Linked DNA regions of Homo sapiens: regions 1, 2, 3 and 4 are each linked to region 5. Evidence: promoter capture Hi-C in human tissues and cell types (Jung and others, 2019). All regions are on one chromosome and are shown on one strand. Each heading gives the region's core, a stretch centred on a gene start or on the middle of the fragment in contact. The rest is flanking DNA. Distances are from core to core; before and after follow the strand shown.

Region 1 (2,700 bases), core at 105-2,604, 260 kb after region 5:
ATCTCTGCTCTAAATGGACTCTCTGGGTACAGAATGTGACATCTCTTTGTTTTTTTCCTCCCATTTTCACATTTTGCTCCTATTATCTTTGCTTATTTGTGTCTAGAGCTAAGCAGCCCTTTTCTGTCATGGTGTTCATTATTTTATATTCTTCATATAATGGAGAAGCAGAGTACCTTGTGAAACAAATAGTTTCCTTGTAGCTTATGCTGCATTGTTTTCAATTTTTTTGTCTATGAGTGTTTCCAAAGTTCGAGTATGAACTACTTGTGGGCAGAGGCCATATCTTTTAAACTGTATTTCTTTGTACTTAGTACAACATCAGAGCAGGCAAGGATGTGCTCTCGAGAAATATCCCTGAATGAGGAGTATGGTTAACTCCACTGCTGTGTGGGCTAATGGACCAAGCATCAGAAGAGACAATCACAATCACATTTGGCTTTCAGAGACACCTTGATCCTGTTATGCCTAGGGCCTATGCCAGTCACAGGTGTATTTTATTGGCATTTTCGTAGGTGCTTGATTTGCACTCTCAGAGCACGTGTAAACCAGCCTGAATCAAATTAGCCTCTATGCAGTTGTTAACAATTGATTGCAGAGCCTGAGAAAAGAGGAAAAGTTTCTTGTATATACCACGTCCTCCACCCAGCTAGGATTGAAGCTGCATAGAAAAGAGAGGAGAAGCATAAAAAAGCACAGGTTGGGGCAGTGAAGTCTCATCCAGCCTTAGCAGATACAAGCAGAAAGCCTGTGTTCCATTTTGTACACATTTAGAAGTTCAGCTTAACTTCACAGTTTCCAGAAACAGAACTGGAACACCGTTCGCCAAAATGTAAGTTATGTCTGCCATGTTTAACATATTTGCTATAAATCCATTGCCTTGAATAGTAGAGAATATTTATTGCATGAAAGGATAACTTTTTCCTTGTTTGCTTACTCATCTAGTAAAGTTTAGCAGACTAGGTACAACTTAAATTTCATCGTCAGTGTTTAATTATAAAACTTTAAGGTACAGCTTTAAAAAATATAAAACAATAGAAAAATTGGAAAATATGCAACACAATGTTCTTTCTGTGATATTGTCAAATGCTTTGGCATAAAAATATTCAGCCACTAAAAATAAAATGTCATCCAGCAATGGAAAAATACTACAATACGAGAAAAAATGATGGATAAAAAAAGAGCATTGCTATAATGATTAATGATAATATGGCTTTTTATTTTAAGTACATGCAGTTTAGGAGAAAGCTTTCAGCATGTATAACATGTTGAAAATAAGTGTTCATGTGATTTGATCAAAGGGCTCCAATCTCTGAGAGACAGTAAATAATACAGTATTTAGGAAATTGCTTTAAATATTTATTTCTCTGATTGGCTAAGATTGCTCACAAATTGCAGCATGTTTTGGATATTGTAAAAGCAAGTCTGAATAACACATGCATCTTGAAGATAAATAGGAGTACACCACCATATATGTGCTGGAGTTGGGGAAAATATTCTCAGTAATAATGACATTCTCAAAGGTGTTTTTAATGATTGACTCCTAAACAGTTTACAATGTTATTATATAATCTTTTTTATTAACCCTTACAGCTATTTTATGGGAAAGGTGGGAAGCAAGGTATCTTTTCAAAACTTTCTCAAAAAGTCTTCAATTTTTCTCTTTCTCTATATTTTTATCAAAAATTAGACAATGCATGTGATTCTGTAGGGGGATTCCATTTGAGATGTAATTTAAATGATGGAAACTTTCTTACACTATGAGTGTCTTATGAAAAGGCAAGAAGTCTTGGTATTCAAAGAGAGTAAATGCAGAACTGTTCAAATATTCCTTCCCTCTCTACCCTTTTGATCCTGTCATGTTTTAACAATTTTTAAAGGTGATTTAAACATTGGGGGATGCACTACCCCTAAGCACTGTCTGTTTTTAGAGTACTCATACTGCTTAGCAACCTTTGACAATAAGCCATACCAAAGAAGAGATCTAGTATGAAAATCTCAGAAGTGAGTCCACAAATACACATCAAAAATAGTAATCTCCAGAGCTTTTAAAAAATACTTTTTCACGTAAGAAAACTTAGAAATGATATCTGTAATTAATCCTTGCCCTTTAAAAAATGTTCTTCATTGATTTATCATTCTTAAGATGAGCAAAGTAGAGCTAGAGATAAGAGAATGGAGAAAATAACAAAGAAAAAGAATGTGTGTTTTAACACAAACGTGGTGCAGAAACTGAGATATCTTTAGCAATGGGAACATTTTTCTACCAACCAAATAAAACCAATGTTATACTTTTAAAACCGTTTCTTTCAATCTGTTGCTCAAGTAGGCTTGTTCATTACAATGATACGTAAATATAAATAAAAACTTAAGTATAAACGTGAAATTTGCTAACCTATTTTTTTCAATTAAGTTTATGGCCTACATTGTTTTGTATATTTAATATAGTGTTTAAGATTAAGAACATAATGTTTTAGCATACCTTCTTAATGATGGAAATACCATTTATTGTTATATAAACCCCCAGTATAGGACATTTTGTTGATATTATAAATATTGTGACAATGAGTAGCTTCATGTCTGCGCATTTGCTTATGTCTCAAAAATATTTTATATTTCCCTAGAATAGAGTTCCAGGAATAGCTGATTTCAGTTTTTGTTGTTGTTATTGTTGTTGTTATTTTGAGACAGGATCTCACT
Region 2 (2,705 bases), core at 206-2,705, 410 kb before region 5:
CACATACCCCATCTTTTAAGCCGAGTTCCATTACGGCATGTGTTCTCTCTTTGGCATTTTAATATCACTAGGTGTCTACCTCATCATTGCACCTAACTGATTAAAAAAATAATTCCCCATCTCTCTCCTTCCTTTCCAATTTGGGTCTATATCAATTTCTTCCAACAATTTTTTATGTAATACCTGTGAACTAGATTGATCCCCCATCTAAATTCTAATTGGCTCCAAAAAAATTATTGTCCAATTATTTTACTTTTGCTCAACATTCATCCACTGAAGAATGAATCATCTTTTCCCTTCAGCTAGTTTTTTCCCTTCAGCTAGTTTCTTCCCCTGAAACTTAATATTTTTAACAATTACCATCTCCTAATTACCCAGTTTCCAAAGCTCAGTATCATTTTTATTCTTTCCTTTGTTTCTTTTGATATACTCTATCAGATATTAGTTCTTCAAAATGTTAATGACATTTGTGCTTTTTTTCTTATGTCATTGCCACCATCCTAGTTGAGGTTATTGTCTCATGTCTTAATAGAAACAAAAGCCATTCCTTATATCTACCTAAATTTCTTAGATCTCCAAATTGGAATTTCCTGTAGTAGTGAGATATTTATTTTGTTGCCTCCTCAGTGTCTCAAAACTTTGTTAAAATAATTTCCTTAAATTATTTTAAAATTCCAAAGAATATATGCTAAATCTTAATAATAGTTATAAATAAATATGAACATATATACATACATATGTATGGAAAGCCAGATTTTTAATATGTCCTTTGTTGTAAAAGTTAAAAATAAATAAATGAACAGATCTAATCTAGCCTTTTACCATGCCACAAAGATCATGATCAATTTTGTCACTTTATACTTCAAAAAATCAGTCTACTATAGGATTATTGCCAATTTTAAGTTTTGTCTCCACGTGAAGTACTTGCAAATATTAATTATTTATATGCATAATTTAATTATATGCCTATGGCATTAAAATAAACATATCTAAGAAAGATCTATGGAGGATTTGCAAAGACGCGAATGATATGCAGTTCTGCTTTGATGTGTCCCTGCATTGGTGTGTCATTTTTATTTTAGTAAACGCATACACAGAATACCTCACTCTTGCCTTGTTCACTGTGCTTCATCAATCTTTTCATCCAATTTCCTTCCAAGGATAATTCTAACAAGACTTTGAAACTCTTGGTTACTATTTCCTCAAAAATAAATATTTTATTCCAAAATGATAAGCTCTAAGGTTGACTTGTCCAATGTAGTTTAAATCTTGAATGGTTAAATGTAGTTTAAAGAGCCCATGGCCTCAAGCTCAAATATGAATCAAATTTTCAGATATCTCTTCATTTTCCTCCTCATGAATGCCTCTAACATGAGGCTGAAGTAACTAACACAAAATTCTTGCCTCAAGTCGTAGTTCCACATCTACACTATGGTCCTCAGAAGTCTCAGTCAAACAGAATGAGCCTAAGGTGATTGTGGTTTTCTATGAAAACATATATACACTAATAGCAATGATTTCTTAAACTGGTAGTCATTGGCTTGAGGAACTCACCCTGACCTGCATTTTCATGTATTAAAAAACCAAAGGTAATAATATTTGTCCTGCCTTTCTATCGTTCATAATATTTACTATATTCCCTATCAGAACTTTCCTAAAGAAAAACAAGTTTTTCAATGTGAAAACTAAAAACTGGTATCATAGCTTTTAATCATTCTAGCTTATTTTGCTCACAGACAACATCCTCGAGTCAAATGGCATTTAACAAACCCATGTTACCAATATTTTCGGGGGTGATTCTGCATGTTGCTGGGTCCAAGATTAAATACAAGAGAAAAATTTTGCTCAGATGTAATACATTCGGTCATACATCATGTGATGTGCTAAGAAGTCTGCTATGAGAGCCTTCTACCCCTGAAAATTGTACCACCACCTATGTGCATCTCCTTTATTGCTTGATATTATATAATCTAGCATAGAAGAGATGATAAAGATCTTCTCCAGTAAACATTGTATCTTTTATTTTCTAAGTGTGTTCCATAAAGTTTTGCCACATAACAAAGGCAGAACACTTGAACCCTTCCCTCATGCTTTCATCAAATTAATCCTCATGGTGTGAGACGAAACCACTTTAGTTATCCTGAAGATATTTGTAAATGGTGAAATTAATTTTCTTAGATGGCTCATAAAAATAGGATAATTATTTTGTAGCCATATCTGGAACCCCATTTTTACAGTTTTGATGTTTATGAAGTAATATTGCTTTAATAACATTCTGATCTTCTCATGTAACATAAATTACAAGGTATACTGAAAATTATAGAAAAGTGTACATTATTTTATATCTGTATTTGTATTTCTTTATGCACATCAATGGATTATTTTTAAAAATATACATAAAGCTCAAATACTGAAACTTGGAGCCAAGACTAGTTCTTGGGTCCTTCAGCAGTTCCTCTGCAAATTTGGCATTACTCTCAGTCATGCTTGCTCCAATTACTAAATAAATACTTGAACTGTGTATTTTCATTCAACAATATTTTTTTTGCAATATCCCAGCAGATGGTGCTATTCTGCAATAAACAGCTTTTGCTTTTGTCAATAAAGTGCTATAGATGTTTAAAAAAAGGCAATGCTTTTTAAAGTGTTTTATTGCTTACCTTGTGCTGCAATTTTTACAGTCCCTTGTTTGGTTTCAGAAGCTT
Region 3 (2,700 bases), core at 126-2,625, 510 kb after region 5:
CTCTTTTTTTCTTCTTTCCCTTCTCTCTCCTTCACCTTTACCTTTTGCCAGTCTTCTCACCTTCATTCTCACTCTTGGGACTTAAGACCTCAAACAATAGTAAAAGAGGTAAAATTACTTAGTTCAGCTTATTTCCATACATAGGTCAGACTTGAAATACCTGTGTTTCACAGAAACTAAGTTCTTTCAGATAAATGGAGCTTGGTGGGAATAGATGTCCCGAAATGTTTATCATAAAAGCACACAACTGATGAAATACTAAAATGAGATCAAACCACGAAGAAAAATGAAGAAAAATGCATTGAAAAGCACATAGCTGTTTTAGTATTGTTAACATGGGAATAGAAGATGATATATATAGTTATGTTAGTACTTTCATTTATGTAGATTTTTTTTTGTAATTTTATTTTTATTATTTGTGCAGCTGCATTATAAGTGCCTTGTATTGCCATGCCTGCATAGAATGGTATTGCTGACACATCATTAGTAATAAGAGATTTTCATTCCTTAAGACAAAGACTTTAATGATCTTTCTGAAATCATAGTTAGAAAGTTAATATTTGAAATGCATTACATGTTTTAACAAACAGAATGTGGGCTACAGATTTTTTTTTCTTTTTTTATGTATCTACAGCTCACAGAAAAACTAAATGTACCTCCCTGGGTTGTGATTTGTTAGGATGAACTAAAAAATATTACTGTCCCTTGGAGGACGTTAGGAACCTACAATGAATTTGAAACATACCATGCACTTCTTACAGGATAAGTAGATTCATTCAGAAATTAACTGAAAGCCGAAAGTAGCTGTTCTGCCAAATATGACCCGAATCTCCACTGAAGTCAGAGGTGATGTTAGTGAATAATTATGATCTTGATTCTTAGATTGCCAGCGAATTCCTCTCACAATTAGTTTGACCAGATATGTTCAGAATCCCAGGCCCTGAAAGCTAGAAGTGATACTAACAATGAGATTAGCAGCAAAAGGAAGGCAGCGTGGTAAGGTGGAAGCACACTGATCTGAGAGTTAAAAGCTTTGGTCCCGGTGTTGGTTTCACAGTGTTTGCAACTAAAAATCTGTGAACAAAATCACTCATTAATAAAGAAACAAAACTAATTTTGTTCATTCCTAACTAAAGTTGTTTGAAGACTTTCAAATTTCCTTCCGTAAGTAAAATTCTGGGTCTAAAGCCACAATTTTCAAAGTTTGAACACCTGATTTCCCTTTTCATCAACTTATTAGGAGAGATTTTAATATGTAGAGCAAAGAACAGTGAAGATACTCAGTGAAAGCAGAAAGAGGGGACAAAGGCCCACACTTCCACTGTGACCCCCATCCTCAGTCCAGAGCAGGGTCTTCAGAGCAAGTCTGCAGAGTTGGACAATACTGAGAAGCCCTAATTTTGGACAAGATAAAATATTAGCAATTATAAACAGATAAGACTACTATATCCCATTTGAAAATACACAAGGAGGAAAATGCCACAAACTCTCCGCATTTAATAGGATTATGGACCCAGCAAAGTTTCCCCACTTGTACAAACCACCCTGTGGCCATGCGCTCACATGCTTCCATTGTGTGGATATGCTTCTGGGCCACCCTGAAAATATTTATATATCCACTGCCACCATGGAAAAATCATAGATTTGCTTTTCACGTTTTAAAAATAGGAAATTTCAAATAAGTCAGTTTCTAAAGATTACATCTACTACGTTTACTTATGTGAAAACAAATGTAAGCAGGAAGCAAAACGCAAATAGGGAGGAACATGACCAGGATGGAGTTAATAACGTGAGAGGCACGTTTGCTTATTGAATTTGCATTCACATGCTCAGTAGAGCCCATTCTTAATTGGTATCGTTAGTGATTATAAAGTCACAACATGTTCACTAGTGTCTTAAGAGACCTGGTTGCAGAAAAGAGACCATTGCCTGTCTGATGAATCTATTCCTTTCACTTTGTTTTCCTGTTTATAAAAAATATGTATTTTTTAGCTTTCAAAGGTTAAACGTATGTGGTATAAAAATGCAAGCAACACAGATAAAGCAAAAATGTACTCTCCTTTACTCCCAATAACTACTAGTAAGTAGTGGTTAACAGGATTGACCACTGTTAACCTCTAATTCTAACCCCTGTCAACCTCCAGTTGTAAACTTTGGGGAGAGAGAAAGAGGTATATAAATAGAGAAAACCTATGCAAACATAAAATCACACACTTTTTATTTGCATACATGGGAGTATTTAGCATCGCTTTCTCTTTTTAACTCAATGCTATGCTATGGTCATCCTTCCTTCTGTGTCAGTGTGAGTGAAAAAAACACAAACTTTACACCACAACAATCAGCATTGAAGACTTCTGTGACTTAATGTGCAGAGATTTCTCCCCACCAGCAAGCAAGAAGTCTATTCTGCTGCAGACACCAGCTAGCTGTCTTCCAATTCAGTTCTGACACTCTACCTGGAGATAGCGTCAGATCCCACAGGTTGAGACTCAGTCCCAGAAAACTGCACCCCCTTCAGACACCAGTTGCATGTCCAGGCCTCTGGAACTTCTGACAGACCTGCTTTCAGTTGGGTTCTCATAACCCCTCTTTGGGTTAGATTAACCTGCTAGGACAGTTCAGGGAAATACTTACATTTACCAGTTTATTATAAAAAGAATATTACAAAGAATACAGATGAAGAGATGCAAAAGGCAGGGT
Region 4 (2,700 bases), core at 178-2,677, 280 kb after region 5:
TATTCTGTCCTCCATATGAAAATATAAATCATGGTCTCATTTGTTTCTCCTGGGTATCTGTGTGTTTGTGTGAGTTTGAGAGAGAAACAAGGATACATTATAACTTTAAAAGTATTTATAGCCTTTGATAATAAGGTGATCAATTGAAGAAATTAACAGTATTCTAGTATTTCATTTAGCTGAAGCAAGATATGCTTTACCGACTTTTAGCTATCCTCCTTTTTTCCTCTTTCTGCTTAGGAATTCCACTAAGTTGGCATGTAAACAGATCACAGGCTGTGTCAGTTTAAAACTTCTTGTTCTGGGCATGCCATTTATTTTGCTAAGCCTGTAGCACTAGGGAGTATTAGCAAAAGCATAATTTACCTTATAGTGACAGTCTCCCGAAACACAGGAAACCTGCCTTTCTTGTGTCACTGAGCGAACAAAGGTAAAGTTAAAGGTAGTGGGCAGAAAGGAAAGAAAGGGTGGGGTTGGGGGGTGGCATTTGGATGGAAAAAAAAAAAAGGGAAAAAACTTTGTCCTCAGAGAGAAATGGTGGGTGGGAGGAAGTAGATTGTAGACCTAGATGGGAAAGGAAGCTTGGGCATCAAAAGATTAAGGATGTGTGAAATATAGATTAACGCCCATGGGAGTCTGACTGATAAAAAAGCTGGGACAACAGGTCTCGCTCAGCAGCCCTGAGAATCAGGCTTCCAGGGTGGTTTCCTACACTGGGCGTCTTGTCTGAGTTTACCTAGGCTAATATATTTTCCCATCTCTCCTTGGGACTCTACTTCTGTAAGGGGAAGATACAGTACAATTTGCCAGAGGTATTTGCTCAGTTATTCAAGATCTTAGACAAAAGGCTGTCTTGTTCCTAGAAGCTAGAATGTTAGAATTGAGTTAGCCTCTTGCAGTTTCTTCTGGATCTATCAGTCTCAATATACGTGAGTTACAGTTTTCATTGTTTTCTTACTTAAATCATTTTGATTGTCAGAGATATTTTTAAAGATTTGAATGTCACAGGTCTCACAGTTTCATTTTACTAATTCTTGCTTGTGTGTCTTAAATATTTTTTATCAATTTTCCATTTTATATATAATATACATATAGACTGTTGCTAATGTTGTTTGTAATAATCCCTTGAGTTTATATTAGACCAAAAAACATTGTACCAACTACATTTCCCAATTAAAAGGAAAAGGAAAAGGAAGAAAATAAACTGAGGATAATTAGCACTTTAACTTTATGGCCCTCCCTGATTGAATCTAGCTCTGCACACAAACACACACGACTACTAGCAAAAACACTCCCCCCCTCCAAGATCTTTATAGAAGGCCTTTTATATCCTCTTCCTTCTTTCCTGTATTTCTATAAATGGGAAAAATATGTTTGAAACAAACATCCTGGTGTTACAAATTTCTAACACTTTATCTAATACCATGTCATATTACCAGAAACTTCAGAGAAATCAGGAGTCCTTGTAGACTAAATTATTGATGATAAACTAACTCGCCTGCATAGGTATAAATCCCACCATAGTAATAAAAATTGATTTCAGGGCAGTTAGTTTCAAACATTTATTTATTCATTGGCATATGAAGGTATAGATAACATAAAAATAAAGTTCCTAGTCTTAAAAAAGAGTCGTTTAATCCTATATTAAAAGATTTATATTGCATATTGACTTTCCTCTATGCAGTTTTTACTTGGAACTTTTAAAGATTTTTGTCTGCCACAGGAATTCTTGATGACTGAGGAGTTTTAGTTCTTATTTTAGTTAATCCTAATTTTAGTTATTCATATGCATAAATTTCAAATCAATCTATTAATGTTTGTCAAACTGCAGAAAATATAAAACATGGTATTTCTGTTTAGTAATGAGACCAATTTTATTTGTGTGTGATTGTTGAAATCAAATAAGACATTTTGAAATAAGGTTATATTACTAGTTTACCAGAATTTTTATGTTTCATTCACTTAGGTTTTACATAAAATTTGCATTCATTTTTACATAACATATTCTGTTTCTCCTCTTTACTAGAATTGAATGGTATTATCTTTAGAATGTCTAAATAAAGTTCTTATGTATAATGCTTGGTAATTACTCATAAATGCTGTTTTCTCTACCAGATACATTTTGCAAAAGAATGTTAAGAGGAGAAAAACACTTGCTTATTACTTTCAGTAAAGGATATTAAAGTTTAGTTGAATTTTCTAGCAGAGTCATGAAATAGAGTAAATATTAAAATATACTATAGTGCTTATTGAAAATATTGGGAATCAAAATTCTGACTTTTCAAGGCCAATTTGCAATACACCATAGACTTATTAGTGCCAGAATTTACTTTAGGCAATCCAGTTAAAACATGTCTTATTACAAGATGGAGAAAAAGAGGCCAAAAGTATTAAGTTTGTGAGTTGGATCACATACAATTACATATTATGTTAAATATTCTTAGCAACAATCATTAAATTAAAAGTCTATCCTCTTCAGTGTCTTGCTGAGCTTTATTAAGATTGCAGGTATTCAATAGAACAAAGGAGTAAATTCAATCCACCCCTGCCCTTAAGGTAGAGAGAGAAATAAAGCCAATACAGATAGTGAATAATGTGATGGGAAGGGTATTTTAGGAACTGAAAGAAACAGGTAAATAACCCAAGCCTAGAAACTTGGCGCATGGGTGGCATGATGGAAACCATAGCATGGTGGTGGGC
Region 5 (2,700 bases), core at 98-2,597:
TGTTTGCTATTTAGCTCCCTAAACCATCCTCTTATCAATCGCGACACTTCACCCCAATGAGTCAGTTCCTCAGTGGATCTCAACAAATAATCTTCACTTCCTGGAAAAGTTAGGATTGCTTTCCTTAGCTGCCAGGGCTAAAAAGGAAACTTGGTCCTAAATATCCACGCCCCAGGGGCAGCCACTTGGGCCAGCATGTTGCGCCCTTCAGCTTTCCGCCCGCAGGTGGCAGCAGCGGGCTCCGAAGCCTGTCTCTGCAGGTAGCAGCCGCTTCACAGCTTTCAGGCCGGTGCTCAGCGGAGGCTGGTGCATCTCCACTAGGAATCCACACCCAGCTGGGACTGCTGTGAAGCTGAAGTAACTGAGTATTAAACTAGTCTCCGACTCTTTAGTATTTTAAGTGAAAACAAACAACAGTTTGAAGCAGCAACAGCAACTCATTGCATCCCTATTCCCTCCGGTTGCTAATTTTTCCCAACTCCAGCAGCAACTCGGTCCCCTTCCCCAAGCAGGGTCGGCTCCGTAGCTCTCCGCGCTCCGACCCTTCAGATCCTCGGGAGCCCAGGGGAGCCAGGTGCTGGGCGGTGCGTCCGGTGCCGCCGCGCCCCTTCTCGCCACCTCTGGCCTCTCCGCCACTCGGGCTTTCCGGCCGCTCTGGATGCCTCGGTTGCACCCCTGTTCCATGACCCCAGCTTCCTTCCCTAACCCTCCTCTTGGTCCCTTCTCCCCCGAGCGCGCGCGCACACACACACTCGGTTCGCTCCCGCGGAGTGGCTCTGGGAGCACGACCGACTTCAGCTCAGCAAACCGCGGTCATGCCGCCCAGACTCCTCGCCCCGAGGCCCCGGTCCCCGCCGCCGCCGCTTTCGCGCCGCTCCTTTCCGCCTAGACACCGCCGCCTGCGGCCGCCTGGGCGGCAGCCCCTGCGGTCCTCAAAGTTGGCCCCCTGGGAGGGGGCGGCAGGGAGCAGGATGAAGGATTTGTTGTAGGAGGAGGATTCACACATCTGGGCGAAGGGAGGGGCAGCGCCGCTGCTGGGACGCGGCGCGGACCCGCATCATTGCGCGCAGCAGCCGCTGCAGCAGCCGCCGGGGACCGCGGAGCCGGGACGCCCCCGCTCGGCCCGCGCCCCGCTCCCCGCCCCACCCCCGCCCGCCGGGCCCAGCAACGCAGGGTGCCTAGGAGCCGCGGGCTGCGCAGGGAGGCGGGCAGCGGCCCTCGCGCGCTTCTGCCGCCCCCGGAGCCGGCGCGCGGCGAGCGCAGGGCGAGCGCGCGTCGGGCGGCGGCCGCGCTGGGGGGCGTGAGGCGAGCGGCGCGGAGAGCGGCAGGGGCGAAACTTCGCGGGCCAGATGCCCGAGGGCGCGGCGGCGCTGCCAGGCTGCCGCTGCTGCCCCTGCGGGCCCCGAGCGCGCCTCCGCAGGCGGCACTGCCCGCGGCGCGGCGTGTGCACCGAGCGAGTGAAGGTATGTGTGGCGGGCGCGGCTGGAGCTGCCGCCGCCGCCGCCGCCGCGCCAGCAGGTCCTAATGCCTGTCACTTCCCAGGACGCTGGCAGCAGCAGCAGCCCGGAGCCCCCGAGCCCTCGGCAGGTTTGCGTGTCCTTCCCCGCGATCTGATTGGATAAAGTGGGGGCTCGACGGTGGCCGACGTGGGACAGTCTGGCTGTGGCAGGGGTCTCGGAAACCATGGGTTATTGCAGTGGCAGGTGCACGCTTATCTTTATCTGTGGCATGCAACTGGTAAGTGACACTTGGGTCCCCTTATTCTGTAATGTGTCTTTGAGATAGTGGGCAGGGGAGTGCAGCAAAGGGTCTGCCATTGACTAGAATGGACGAAAAAGATAAAAGAGAAGGTGACAGATATATTGCCTATATTGAAGATGATTTCAGGGAGACGCACTCTGGGGTACAGGAGAGGTGAGCCTTTCCGTTCCCACCTATTTCTGTCCCTTTTAAGACAGTTTGGCAGGTGCGGGTTAAACTTGTCTTTAATTTCTTTAGGAAAAGCAAGATGTAGCTCTTGTTCTTTATGCTTTGCATTCCTATTCATGTAACAACGTGATTGTCACCTACAATTTACCGTACAGGTTGTTAAACAGAGGAATACGGAATTTTGGACTTTTCTTCTCTATACTAATTTTGCAGTATCTTTGTTTCTTCATAGACATGTTTTTTTTCTTTTTTTAAGGAAAATGTTGTCTTTAAGTATAATGCTCTAAAAAAACCACTGTTTAGGGCACATGGTATCCTTACAACAGTCTAATTTAGACTGTTTGAGTTTTAGCCACATTGAGTTTTTAAAGTATGCAGATTGAACAAAAATACTTAGGTGAACTCAGCAACACCATTGTCATAGACGGAACCAGTAACCTTTAAATCACAATTAACACAGACAATTCCAAGAAAAACTATTCTGTCTTACATTATGCATATTATTGCTCCTGAAATAGATACTGTTGTCTGATCCTATAGGATGGAGAATTCTATGTACTTTTTGAGGAATGTTGTACAGTTGCAAAGGGGCAAGGAACCAATAATGGAAAACGTCATGTCTCTGAATTTCAATTCCCTAAGGGCAATGGAAGGAGGGTCTGAGTAGAGAGTTGAGAGGTGAAAAATACACCACTCTAAGTGGTTAATTTGAGGTAGGAGCTACTTGCTCACACTTGTCATTAAATATATTTCCTTAGAAAGTATAAATTA

The links. Contacts are between HindIII fragments. The study calls those that stand out against the background at their distance.
Region 1: a contact is called between a fragment that was not itself captured here and the fragment with the promoter of NKAIN2 in region 5, in 3 of the 25 tissues and cell types used here (dorsolateral prefrontal cortex, hippocampus and lymphoblastoid cells).
Region 2: a contact is called between a fragment that was not itself captured here and the fragment with the promoter of NKAIN2 in region 5, in 1 of the 25 tissues and cell types used here (dorsolateral prefrontal cortex).
Region 3: a fragment that was not itself captured here is called in contact with the fragment with the promoter of NKAIN2 in region 5 in 1 of the 25 tissues and cell types used here (mesenchymal stem cells).
Region 4: a contact is called between a fragment that was not itself captured here and the fragment with the promoter of NKAIN2 in region 5, in 1 of the 25 tissues and cell types used here (hippocampus).

What each region holds. Positions count from the first base shown.
Region 1 is chr6:124,059,763-124,062,462 of GRCh38, forward strand. All of the region lies in intron 1 of NKAIN2 (sodium/potassium transporting ATPase interacting 2), which reads left to right. Among named protein-coding and RNA genes, the nearest start is that of NKAIN2, 260 kb to the left of the region's middle. The HindIII fragment of the contact is 5,490 bases long and covers 1-2,700 here.
Region 2 is chr6:123,390,964-123,393,668 of GRCh38, forward strand. It overlaps TRDN (triadin), which reads right to left. Exons shown (of 41, transcript NM_006073.4): 13 at 2,661-2,705. Among named protein-coding and RNA genes, the nearest start is that of TRDN-AS1, 47 kb to the right of the region's middle. The HindIII fragment of the contact is 3,038 bases long and covers 1-2,705 here.
Region 3 is chr6:124,309,865-124,312,564 of GRCh38, forward strand. The region is part of intron 2 of NKAIN2 (sodium/potassium transporting ATPase interacting 2); the gene reads left to right. Among named protein-coding and RNA genes, the nearest start is that of NKAIN2, 510 kb to the left of the region's middle. The HindIII fragment of the contact is 5,652 bases long and covers 1-2,700 here.
Region 4 is chr6:124,079,446-124,082,145 of GRCh38, forward strand. The region is part of intron 1 of NKAIN2 (sodium/potassium transporting ATPase interacting 2); the gene reads left to right. Among named protein-coding and RNA genes, the nearest start is that of NKAIN2, 280 kb to the left of the region's middle. The HindIII fragment of the contact is 5,382 bases long and covers 1-2,700 here.
Region 5 is chr6:123,802,518-123,805,217 of GRCh38, forward strand. NKAIN2 (sodium/potassium transporting ATPase interacting 2) reads left to right here and starts at 1,348. Exons shown (of 7, transcript NM_001040214.3): 1 at 1,348-1,737. The coding sequence starts at 1,684. RefSeq lists an enhancer at 104-153. The HindIII fragment of the contact is 12,261 bases long and covers 1-2,700 here.